Regions from separate parts of the Homo sapiens genome. Here all the other regions are linked to region 3. Evidence: promoter capture Hi-C in human tissues and cell types (Jung and others, 2019). All regions are on one chromosome and are shown on one strand. The core of a region is centred on a gene start or on the middle of the fragment in contact, and the rest is flanking DNA. Distances in the headings are between cores, read along the strand shown. Region 1 overlaps FAM171A1 (family with sequence similarity 171 member A1). Region 2 overlaps FAM171A1 (family with sequence similarity 171 member A1). Region 3 holds the start of FAM171A1 (family with sequence similarity 171 member A1).

Evidence for each region. The method cuts DNA at HindIII sites, captures the fragments that hold promoters and counts their contacts. A contact is called where the count stands out against the background at its distance.
Region 1: a contact is called between a fragment that was not itself captured here and the fragment with the promoter of FAM171A1 in region 3, in 2 of the 25 tissues and cell types used here (dorsolateral prefrontal cortex and mesenchymal stem cells).
Region 2: a contact is called between a fragment that was not itself captured here and the fragment with the promoter of FAM171A1 in region 3, in 4 of the 25 tissues and cell types used here (dorsolateral prefrontal cortex, heart right ventricle, liver and 1 more).

What each region holds. Positions count from the first base shown.
Region 1 is chr10:15,274,953-15,277,990 of GRCh38, reverse strand. It overlaps FAM171A1 (family with sequence similarity 171 member A1), which reads left to right. Exons shown (of 8, transcript NM_001010924.2): 3 at 2,044-2,136. Among named protein-coding and RNA genes, the nearest start is that of FAM171A1-AS1, 68 kb to the right of the region's middle. The HindIII fragment of the contact is 3,779 bases long and covers 1-3,038 here.
Region 2 is chr10:15,305,089-15,308,508 of GRCh38, reverse strand. All of the region lies in intron 1 of FAM171A1 (family with sequence similarity 171 member A1), which reads left to right. Among named protein-coding and RNA genes, the nearest start is that of FAM171A1, 64 kb to the left of the region's middle. The HindIII fragment of the contact is 8,166 bases long and covers 1-3,420 here.
Region 3 is chr10:15,369,885-15,373,097 of GRCh38, reverse strand. It overlaps FAM171A1 (family with sequence similarity 171 member A1), which reads left to right and starts at 1,809. Exons shown (of 8, transcript NM_001010924.2): 1 at 1,809-2,142. The coding sequence starts at 2,046. RefSeq lists silencers at 1,763-1,812, 1,823-2,052. The HindIII fragment of the contact is 11,349 bases long and covers 1-3,213 here.

The DNA.
Region 1 (3,038 bases), core at 364-2,863, 95 kb after region 3:
TGAGGCCAGGAATTTGAGACCAGCCTGGCCAATGTGACGAAACCCCATCACTACTAAAAATACACAATTAGCCAGGCATGGTGATGCACACCTGTAATTCCAGCTACTCAGGAGGCTGTGGCAGGAGGATAGCTTGAACGTGGGAGGCAGAGGCTGGAGTGAGCCAAGATTGCACCACTGCACTCCAGCCTGGGTAGCAAGAGCGAAACTGCATCTCAAAAAAAAAGAGCCAGCACTGTGAAGTGACTGATCTTCTTAGCACTTATCTTCTAGATCCTGATGTTTTCCCAGAATGTCATTTACCTCTCTAGGCCAACTTTTCCATGTCTCATAGTGGTTGAGAACTCCAGAGTTCAAATCGTAGCCCTGGCATTTATTAGCTGTGGGATATTGGGTGAGTTACTTCCTCATCTGTAAACCTGTTTCCTTACCTGTGAAATGGGCATGTTAATAATGCCTACTTCAGATGCCAGGTACGTTGGCTGATGCCTGTAATCCTAGCAGTTTGGGAGGCCAAGGCAGATGGATCACTTGAGGTCAGGAGTTTGAAACCAGCCTGGCCAACATGGTGAAACCCTGTCTCTACTAAAAATATTTTTTAAAACATTAGCTGGGCATGGTGGCAGGTGCCTGTAATCCCAGCTATTCGGGAGGCTGAGGCAGGAGAATCACTTGAACCTGCGAGGCGGAGGTTGCAGTGAGCCAAGATCACGCGATTGCACTCCAGCCTGGGCAACAAGAGTGAAACTCTGTCTCAAAAATAATAATAATAATGCCTAAGTGATAGAGCTGTTTTGAAGCTTAAATAAATTACTAAAATTAAAGCACTTAGAATACTGTTTGTCCTGTTAGTAAAGGTTCAGTAATGTGAGTGATGATTATTATTCTATAATGCATTTATTTGTTTTTCTCTTAAATTCATGTTTTACCCAGAAATTTGTGGGGTTTCTAAAATTTTTTAGAAATCCAGGTACTTAAGCAAGAGTTTGAAAATAGCATAACTTGGCTAGGTGCAGTGGCTCTAGCCTATAATCCCAGGACTTTGGAAGGCAAAGGTGGGAAGGATTGCTTGAGCCCAGGAGTTTGAGAGTAACCTGGGCAACATATGGAGACCCTGTCTCTACAAAAAATTTTGAAAATTAGCTGGGTGCAGTGGTGCACACCCATGGTCCCAACTATTTGAGAGACTAAGGCAGCAGGGATACTTGAGCCTGGGAGGTCGAGGCTACAGTGAGTTCTAACCGTGCCACTGCACTCCAGCCTGAGTGACAGAGTGAGACCGTGTCTCAAAAAAATAAAAATGAAAAGCACAATTTCTATCATGTTATTAGTTCCCAGGATTGGGGGAATATTCTTTTACCATGAGGTACACATTAACCTAGACACGTATTTTTAAAGCCATTCTTAATGTTAACATCTAACATTATGTATTCTACATTCATGTAGTGTATACATGATAACTTTCATATACTCCTAATGTGAAGAGGCTTAGTTACTTTACTGAAAACTTCTGGCTGGGCGCAGTGGCTCACGCCTGTAATCCCAACACTTTGGGAGGCCAAGGCAGGTGGATCACGAAGTCAGGAGTTCGAGACCAGCTTCGCCAACACAGTAAAACCCTGTATCTACCAAAAATGCAAAAATTATCTGGGCATGGTGGCAGGTGCCTGTAATCTCAGCTACTCGGGAGTCTGAGGCAGGAGAATCGCTTGAACCTGGGAGGCGGAGGTTAGAGTGAGCTGAGATTGCGCCACTGCATTCCAGCCTGGTGACAAGCGAGAGTCCGTCTCAGAAAAAAGAAAAAAAAAAGAAAACTTCTAACAAATGAAAAAAGATGACCATTGTAAGGCAAGTAATTGTTATATGAGATACTGCAATACACTTGTAGCATTTTGAAGGTCTTTTGCTAATCTAACTAAAAATTAATTGTATTAATTGATTTGAAATCAGAAAATACAAAAACTGCAGAGTATCCCAAAAATTAGAGTAGGCACTTAAATATGACTATTAAAATCCCCTTCTATCCATTTCTTTTTCCTGCAGTATTTTCCTCTCTGAGCCTTGGCCTGCTTCCAGAACGCTCTGCCACTCTAATGGTATATGAAGATGTCGTCCAAATAGTATCAGGATTCCAAGGTATATTTAATATTTTTTTCAGTTTTTATTGTTATTTTTGATGGATACATTATTGTATACATTTATGGTGTACAATGTGATGTGATGTTTGTATACAAGGTGGATTGATTAAATCAAACACATTAACCCATCATTAACTTGTCTATCACCTCACTTGCCTAACATTTTTTATAGTGAGACATTTGAAATTTACTCTTTTCATTATTTTGGTATGTACAATAATTAAAAAGAGAAACAACAGTCAGTTTTGGGCCACCTACTAAAATCTTATGGCTCATGCCTATAATCCCAGCACTTTGGGAAGCCTAGGTGGGTTGATCATTTGAGGTCAGGGATTGGAGACCAGCCTGGCCAACATGATGAAACCCCATCTCTACTAAAAATACAAAAAAAAAAAATATTTAGCCAGGCATGGTGGCACATGCCTGTAATCCCATCTACTTGGGAGGCTGAGGCAGGAGAATCGCTTAAACCTGGGAGGTGGAGGTTGCAGTAATCCAAGATTGTGCCACTGCACTCCAGCCTGGGTGACAGAGTGAGACTTCATCTCAAAAAAAAAAAAAAAACTTAAATGGAATCCACTTATTATTTTTTAAATTATACATCATACTTTAAGTTCTAGGGTGCATGTGCACAACATGCAGGTTTGTTACATCTGTATACATGTGCCATGTTGGTGTACTGCACCCATTAACTCGTCATTTACATTAGGTATATCTCCTAATGCTATCCCTCCCCACTCCCCCAACCCCACGACAGGCCCCGGTGTGTAATGTTTCCCACCCTGTGTCCAAATGTTCTCATTGTTCATTTCCCACCTATGAGTGAGAACATGTGGTGTTTGGTTTTCTGTCCTTGCGATAGTTTGCTCAGAATGGTGGTTTCCAGCTTCATCCATGTCC
Region 2 (3,420 bases), core at 846-3,345, 65 kb after region 3:
CTGGGCAATGGAGCAAGACTCCATCTCAAAAAATAATAGAAATAAAATAGAGTTTGTCAAGATAAGATGTCCGAGCTGTTCGGTATCTTTAAAAACTTTCTGCTTTTGAAAACTCAGTGTTAGCAGATGTTTGTCTATTTACAAGATTTCCTTTTATAACCTCCCCCTAGCATTTATTAATTTTCACAATGAGGTAGCAATTTTGCTTTGCTTTCTGACATGAGAGTATATGCCCTTCCTAAGTAAATCCTATGTACTCTGATTGTATACTTGCAAGTAGAGTATAATGTGTTGCAGTTAGATTGTGTGCCTGACAACCACTGATTTTGAAAGACAAATGTTAGTGTGGACAGCATGAGAGTGACAACATTGTTTAACACTTCCTAATGAAAGTAAAATTTTTCTGGGCCTGGTAGCTCATGCCTGTAATCCCAACACTTTGAGAGGCCGAGGTGGATTACTTGAGGCCAGGAGGTTAAGACCAGCATGGGCAACATAGCTAGACCTCATCTCTACAAAAAAATTAAAAAATAAAAAATGAGCCCAGTATGGTGGCATGTGCCTTTGGTCCCAGTTACCTGGGAGGCTGAGGTAGGAGGATCGCTTGAGCCCAAGGATTCGAGGCTGCAGTGAGCTGTAGCCACTGCACTGCAGCCTGGGCAACAGAACAAAATGCTGTCTCAAAAAAAAAAAAAGGCATTAATTCCCCCACATTGCCTCTGTGCTCCTAAATAAGACTTATTGGTTGGTTGATTAGGAAGGAAACATCACAGTATTGGAAGAATATACCCATGGTTTTGTGGTGGTAGAACTGTTTTGAGATCTTCTTCAAGTCGCATTTTTTTTTTTTTTTTTTTTTTTTGAAATGGAGTTTCACTCTTGTTGCCCAGGCTGGAGTGCAGTGGTGCAATCTCGGCTCACTGCAACCTCTGCCTCCCGAATACAAGCGATTCTCCTGCCTCAGCCTCCTGAGTAGTTGGGATTACAGAAGCCTGCCACCATGCCTGGCTAATTTGCTGTGTTTTTAGTAGAGACGATGTTTCACCATGTTGGCCAGGCTGGTCTCGAACTCCTGACCTCAGGTGATCCACCCGCCTCAACCTTCCAAAATGCAGTGATTACAGGTGTGAGCCACTGCACCCGGCCTCAAGTCGCTTTCTACTTTAAGATGGAATCTTCACTATTTGATCCTGTGTATGGCCTGTTAGCTCAGCCTGTTAGAATCACGTCTGTGTCGTGTCAGGGTTGCAGGTTCAGCCCCCATATGGCCTGTGTATATGACATGCATTTGCACCCTGCAAGCAAATGGGAATTTGCAGGGTTTGTGCAGATTCCAACTTTCTGAAAAACAAATCAAGGTATGTGCCCTCTTGCGGGTGGGCTGATGGTGTCATCCTCATGCTCCTGGGTCAGCACATAGAAGCAGGAAATAAGGTCACCCAACAGAGAGCCTTTCCACAGTACCCTGGATGTAAGTGGATATCCGCACCTGTGAACTGCAGTGACCGAAAGCCCTGGAGAGGGTTCCGTGTCTTCAGAATCACTGAGTGTTTTTGAAGGGCACATGGCGTGATGGAAAGCCGTGCTCTAGGAGGCTTGGTCTGGCAGGAGTGTTAGTCATGATGGATGTCAGCTGGACTTAGTTCCGGTGAGAAGGTGGATAGGACCTAATTGAGTAGAAGAAAAGGATTCTGGATGGAACTGCTGCTTCTCTGGCTGCAGATAGTTGTACTTAAGATGTGGCTTTCAGTCACTGCCCTCATTTATATTTTTGGGTGGTCATCCTTGAGATTCTTCACCTTAAATCTGATGGTCGTGACAGTCCATTGAAAAAGAATGGCTATGCCAGGCTCAGTGGCTCACGCCTATAATCCCAGCACTTTGGGAGGCTGAGGCGGGTGGATCACCTGAGGTCAGCAGTTTGAGACCAGCCTGGCCAACATGGTGAAACCCCGTCTATACTAAAAATACACAAAATTAGCCAGGCATGGTGGGGCATGCCTGTAGTCCCAGCTACTCGAGAGACTGAGTCAGGAGAATCGCTTGAACCCAGGAGGCAGAGGTGGCAGTGAGTCAAGATTGTGCCACTGCACTACAGCCTGGGTGACAGAGCAAGACTGTCTCTCAAAAAAAAAAAAAGAATGGCTAATCCTAAAAGGGTTAAATAAATTACATTGATATTGATGACAATGATGTAAGCATTTTTTCCTCTGCACAATTTAAATATTTTAATTTGACTTTTTCAAAGAAGAACCCCAAACAGTTTACCTGTCATAGCCTCAGTGAAACACCTGAATTGAAATCTGTAACTTAAAATCTTCTCAATCACATTATTCAGGTAAATGCACATCTGAATGTGAAGATAGGGGCTTGCCCCAGCAAGAAACATACGGTCGAGTTGCACACGAGACCCATGCCCGTGATACATTTATCATGTTATCCATGGATCATGCTCTATTTGTGCGATTCCTTTGCATGATCTTGTCCATGCTGTCAGACCCCGTTCTGATGATATTTTGAGAGCAGTTCCACTAAGAGCTCTGTCCAGGCCACCCTCCTCGCCTGTGTTGAGAGAGGATCTGAAGTTTGGCGTTAGTCTTCCTCCTATGTCTGTCCCCGTGTTCGTGCACAGGCACATAGGCACCAGCAAGCCTTTCTCCGATTTTAGGGCTGGACTTTCACCATGGGTTCACCCCACAGTGTCCTTCTGTGGCAGTCCAATTTGCATATTGGATGTACAATTAACCACTTCCCTGCTCAAAAATCTTCAGTGATTTTTTGCTGTCCAAAGTCTGAAATTTTTCATTCACTCTTCTGATCTTTTTTTTTTTTTTTTTTTTTTTTAGCCAGATCTCACTCTGTCACCCAGGCTGGAGTACAGTGGTATGATCACTTCTCACTGCAGCCTCAAACTCCTGACCTCAAGCCATTTTCCCACCTAAGCCCCCTGAGTAACTGGGACTACAGGCATGCACACCACACCAGGCTAAGCTTTTAATTTTATGTAAAGATGGGTCTCACCCAGGCTGGTCTTGAACTCCTGGCCTCAAGCAATCCTCCCACCTCAGCCTCCTGAGTTACTGGGATTATAGGCATGAGCCATGGCACCCAGCCCTCCATTCAGTTCTTTTATAGACATTATAGAGTCGGGAAGGTGACGTGAGAGGTTCATCAGGTCTGATACTGAGTCTTTTATTGTGCTTACCTAACCAGACATTTCCTCTCTCCAGATTAATATTTTCTGTGATCTAGAATTTACTGTTTATTCATGCAGCCTAAACTGTTACAAAGATCTTCCTTGCAGCAAGTATAAATAAAACTAGTTCTGCACCAGTACCTTGTTCATGGCGTATCTTCACCGGGAAAACCTTGAGTCATCTACTATTTTAAATTATAAGTTTTATTATTATTCAGGTGTGG
Region 3 (3,213 bases), core at 560-3,059:
ATAAGCCAACTGGGCAAGTGCCATCCTTCATTCTTTTTTTGGTACGGTGCCTGCCATGTCTAAATGCTCAATTAATGAAATTACAGTAATAACCCTCCTTCTGGCCTGGTGTTCTGGAAGCAGTGTGGGGTGGATGATGGGTCTGGAGTGGATTTTCCTAGGTCCCCAGTGGAAGTCGGAAGGTCACCGCAGTGCTAGTTGGAAGAGAAGGTGGAGAGGGACAAGTGGAGGTGAAGGTTGTGTGGAAGGCATACCGACAGGAGTGGGTTGAGAGAAAGAAAAGTTGAGGTTGGAATGGAGGGGGTCCCTAGGCTCAAGGAAAGTCTAGAGGTTTGGTTTTGTTTTGTGTGTGGTTTTTTTGGTGGTTTTATTTTTTGATTTTTTTTTTTTTTTTTTTTTGAGACGGGGTCTCAGTCTGTCATCCAGGCTGGAGTGCAGTGGCACGATCTTGGCTCACTGCAACCTCCCCACTCCCAGGTTCAAGCGATCCTCCCACCTCAGCCTCCTGAGTAGTTGGGACCACAGGCATGGGCCACTATGCCTGGTTAATTTTTTTGTATTTTTGGTAGAGACAGGGTTTCACCATGTTGGCCCAGCTGGTCTCTTAACTCCTGAACTCAGGCCATCCACCTACCTCAGCCTCCCAAAGTGTTGGGATTATAGGCATGAACCATCACACCCAGCCAAGTCTGGAGGTTTTTGTGAAGAGTTTCAATTTTGGGGTCAGACTGACTGTTTTATTAGAATTTTGGCTCTGCCACTGACCAGGTATGCACTTTTGGACAAATTCCTTAACCCTCTTTAGCCTCTTTTCTCATCTGTGAATGGGGGGGATAATGCTAACTACCTCTTAGATCATGTATTGTGAAGATGGACAAAGAGTCTCTGCTTGACCGAACTACAGTCAGGCTCCGGAACCTTCTTCTAGGCTCAGTTGTGCCCTTCCTTGTAAAATCTGCTTTCAGGAAGAACCCTGCTAAGTCAGTTTACCAAGAACCCTCCACCCTGGATATCTGATCAGCTTCCCCATCCGCCCTGTCCTGCCCAGCCCTGCCAGGGGATGTCTGACTTTCAAGAATCCCCCTTCCCCCTGATGTTTCCTCTTATAATTTTTCATTCCCTGCATCCCACCCTGGTCCTCGGTTATAAATCCCCACTTGTTCCTGCTGTATTCAGAGTTGAACCCAACCTTTCTCCCCGACTGCAGAATCCCATGGTAGGGCTTATACCTATTGCGATGGTTCCAAAGAGGGTCTTCTTTGCTGTGCTTTCACACGTGTCATGGAATAGTCTTTTTTCTTTAATAGGACAGAAAGTTTTAAAGCACCTAGGGCCTCAAAAGATGTGGATTTCCTCCCCACCCTAACCCCTAGAACCATCCAAGTACCATTCCTCCTGAAGCTGTCCACCCGCCAACACGTAGGTACTGCAGGCCTACTGCAGTCTATACTGGCTTGGGGAGTGTTTTTGCGGATCTTTAACACTGGGTGTGAAATCTACGTTGGGGGACACAACTACATTAGGATGGCACCTGGTGGGGGGGTCACACCCAGATACAATGTCTCCTGCGGCCCCTTGGGTGACCTGGTGTGATGAAAAGGGCTCCGCCCTGAAAGGCAGGTCTGGCTCTTCTGCGGGGCTGCGGGGATGGGGCGCGCCGGGGCAGTGTCGCCGGGGGTCGGGCTGGGGGCGCGACGCAGCGGCGCCGGGCGGGGGCGCCCTCGGCGCCGCAGCCGCCAGGTGGCACCACGGGCCCGGGGCCTGGGCGCGGGCAGCGGCGGCGGCGGCGGGCGAGGCAGGAAGGGGTTAAGGAGCTGGCGGAGCAGCAGCAGCCGCCGCCGCCGCCGCCGCCGCGGCTCTTCGGGGAAACCCGGCGCGGGGCGCGGGAGGGAGCGGCCGGGGCGGCGGGGCCGGGCCAATCGGGCGGCGGGCCCGGCGCGCGGAGCCAGCGACATGGAGGGGGGCGCGGCGCCCGGCCGCCCGTGACGCGCCGCCGCCCGGCCCGCTCTCGGCGAGCCCGAGCCGCCGCCGGCCCCGCGGCGGAGATGAGCAGGTCCGCGACGCTGCTGCTGTGCCTGCTGGGCTGCCACGTCTGGAAGGCGGTGACCAAGACGCTGCGGGAGCCCGGCGCCGGAGCCCAAGGTCAGTGGGCGGCGGCGGGGCCGGGGGCTTTGTGTCGCGCCGGGCCTGGCGCGGAGGCGGCGGCGGCGGCGGCGGCGGCGGGAGGGTCCCGGGCCGCGTGGTGGCGACGCAGCCCGAGCCGCATCGGGAGCCTCCGGGCCTGCAGCACCCGCAACGCGCTCCCGAGGGGGCGGCGCGGGCCGGCGACGCGGGGTGACCCGGGCGGAGGCTTCGGGGGCCGGGGATCGGGGGCTGGGTCGGGCGGGGGCGCGGGCAGCTCCAGCTGCTGTCGCCGCTGCGGCGGGGGCTCGTCTGGATGCGCCCGGGGGTCCCCTTTATGCCGCGCCTCGGACACGCGGCTCTGTCTCCCATGTCGCCGCGGACAGAGGGGCCGCCCAGGGCGCGCCGCCCGATCGCGCTCCCGGCTCCCCACGCCGGGCTCGGGTCTGGGAAGTCCCAGCTCCTGGGCTGCGCTGGGGCCTTTTGTTGTGGCGGGAGGGGGTGGCTGACGCCCCGGGGTGCCCCCTGTGTCCCGGGGCCCCGAGGTCCGCTGCCGCCACTAGCCACTAGCCTGCCGCAGTTTGGGAAAGTTTGGGGGGTTCTCTCCCCCTGCCTATCTGACGTCTCTTCCAGACCATAAGGGATTTGCTCAGCGGCCCATGAGTCTTCTCTGTAAGGGAAGAAAGAATTGAACTGGGAGGCCCTCATCGCTCACCAAAAAAAAAAAAAAAAAAAAGAAAAATCCTTTCCAGATCAGTTTGTCGCCAGCTCGTGCCTTTTGTCTCGTCTTTGGCCTCCACAAATCTGCTTTCCAGCCCTGGGAGTAACGTGGTCGCCTCTGAGAATGGCCACGAGCCTGTCTTTTGTTTTTAAAATCAGCGTTTTTTGAGGGGAGTCCCCCACACCCACCCTGAGGCTTGCTTGGCACATTTTTGTGGGGACAGCGTCGAGGACTCCTCTGTTGCTGGCGTTTTCAAAAGGGCCACTGAGGCCCGCAGATGAGCCTCTGCATTCACCCAGGGCACCGCTGCCTGGACTCTTGCCGGGGGCTCAGGTCTCTGCGAGGGAGCTCCCTGCAGCCCTGCAGAACCC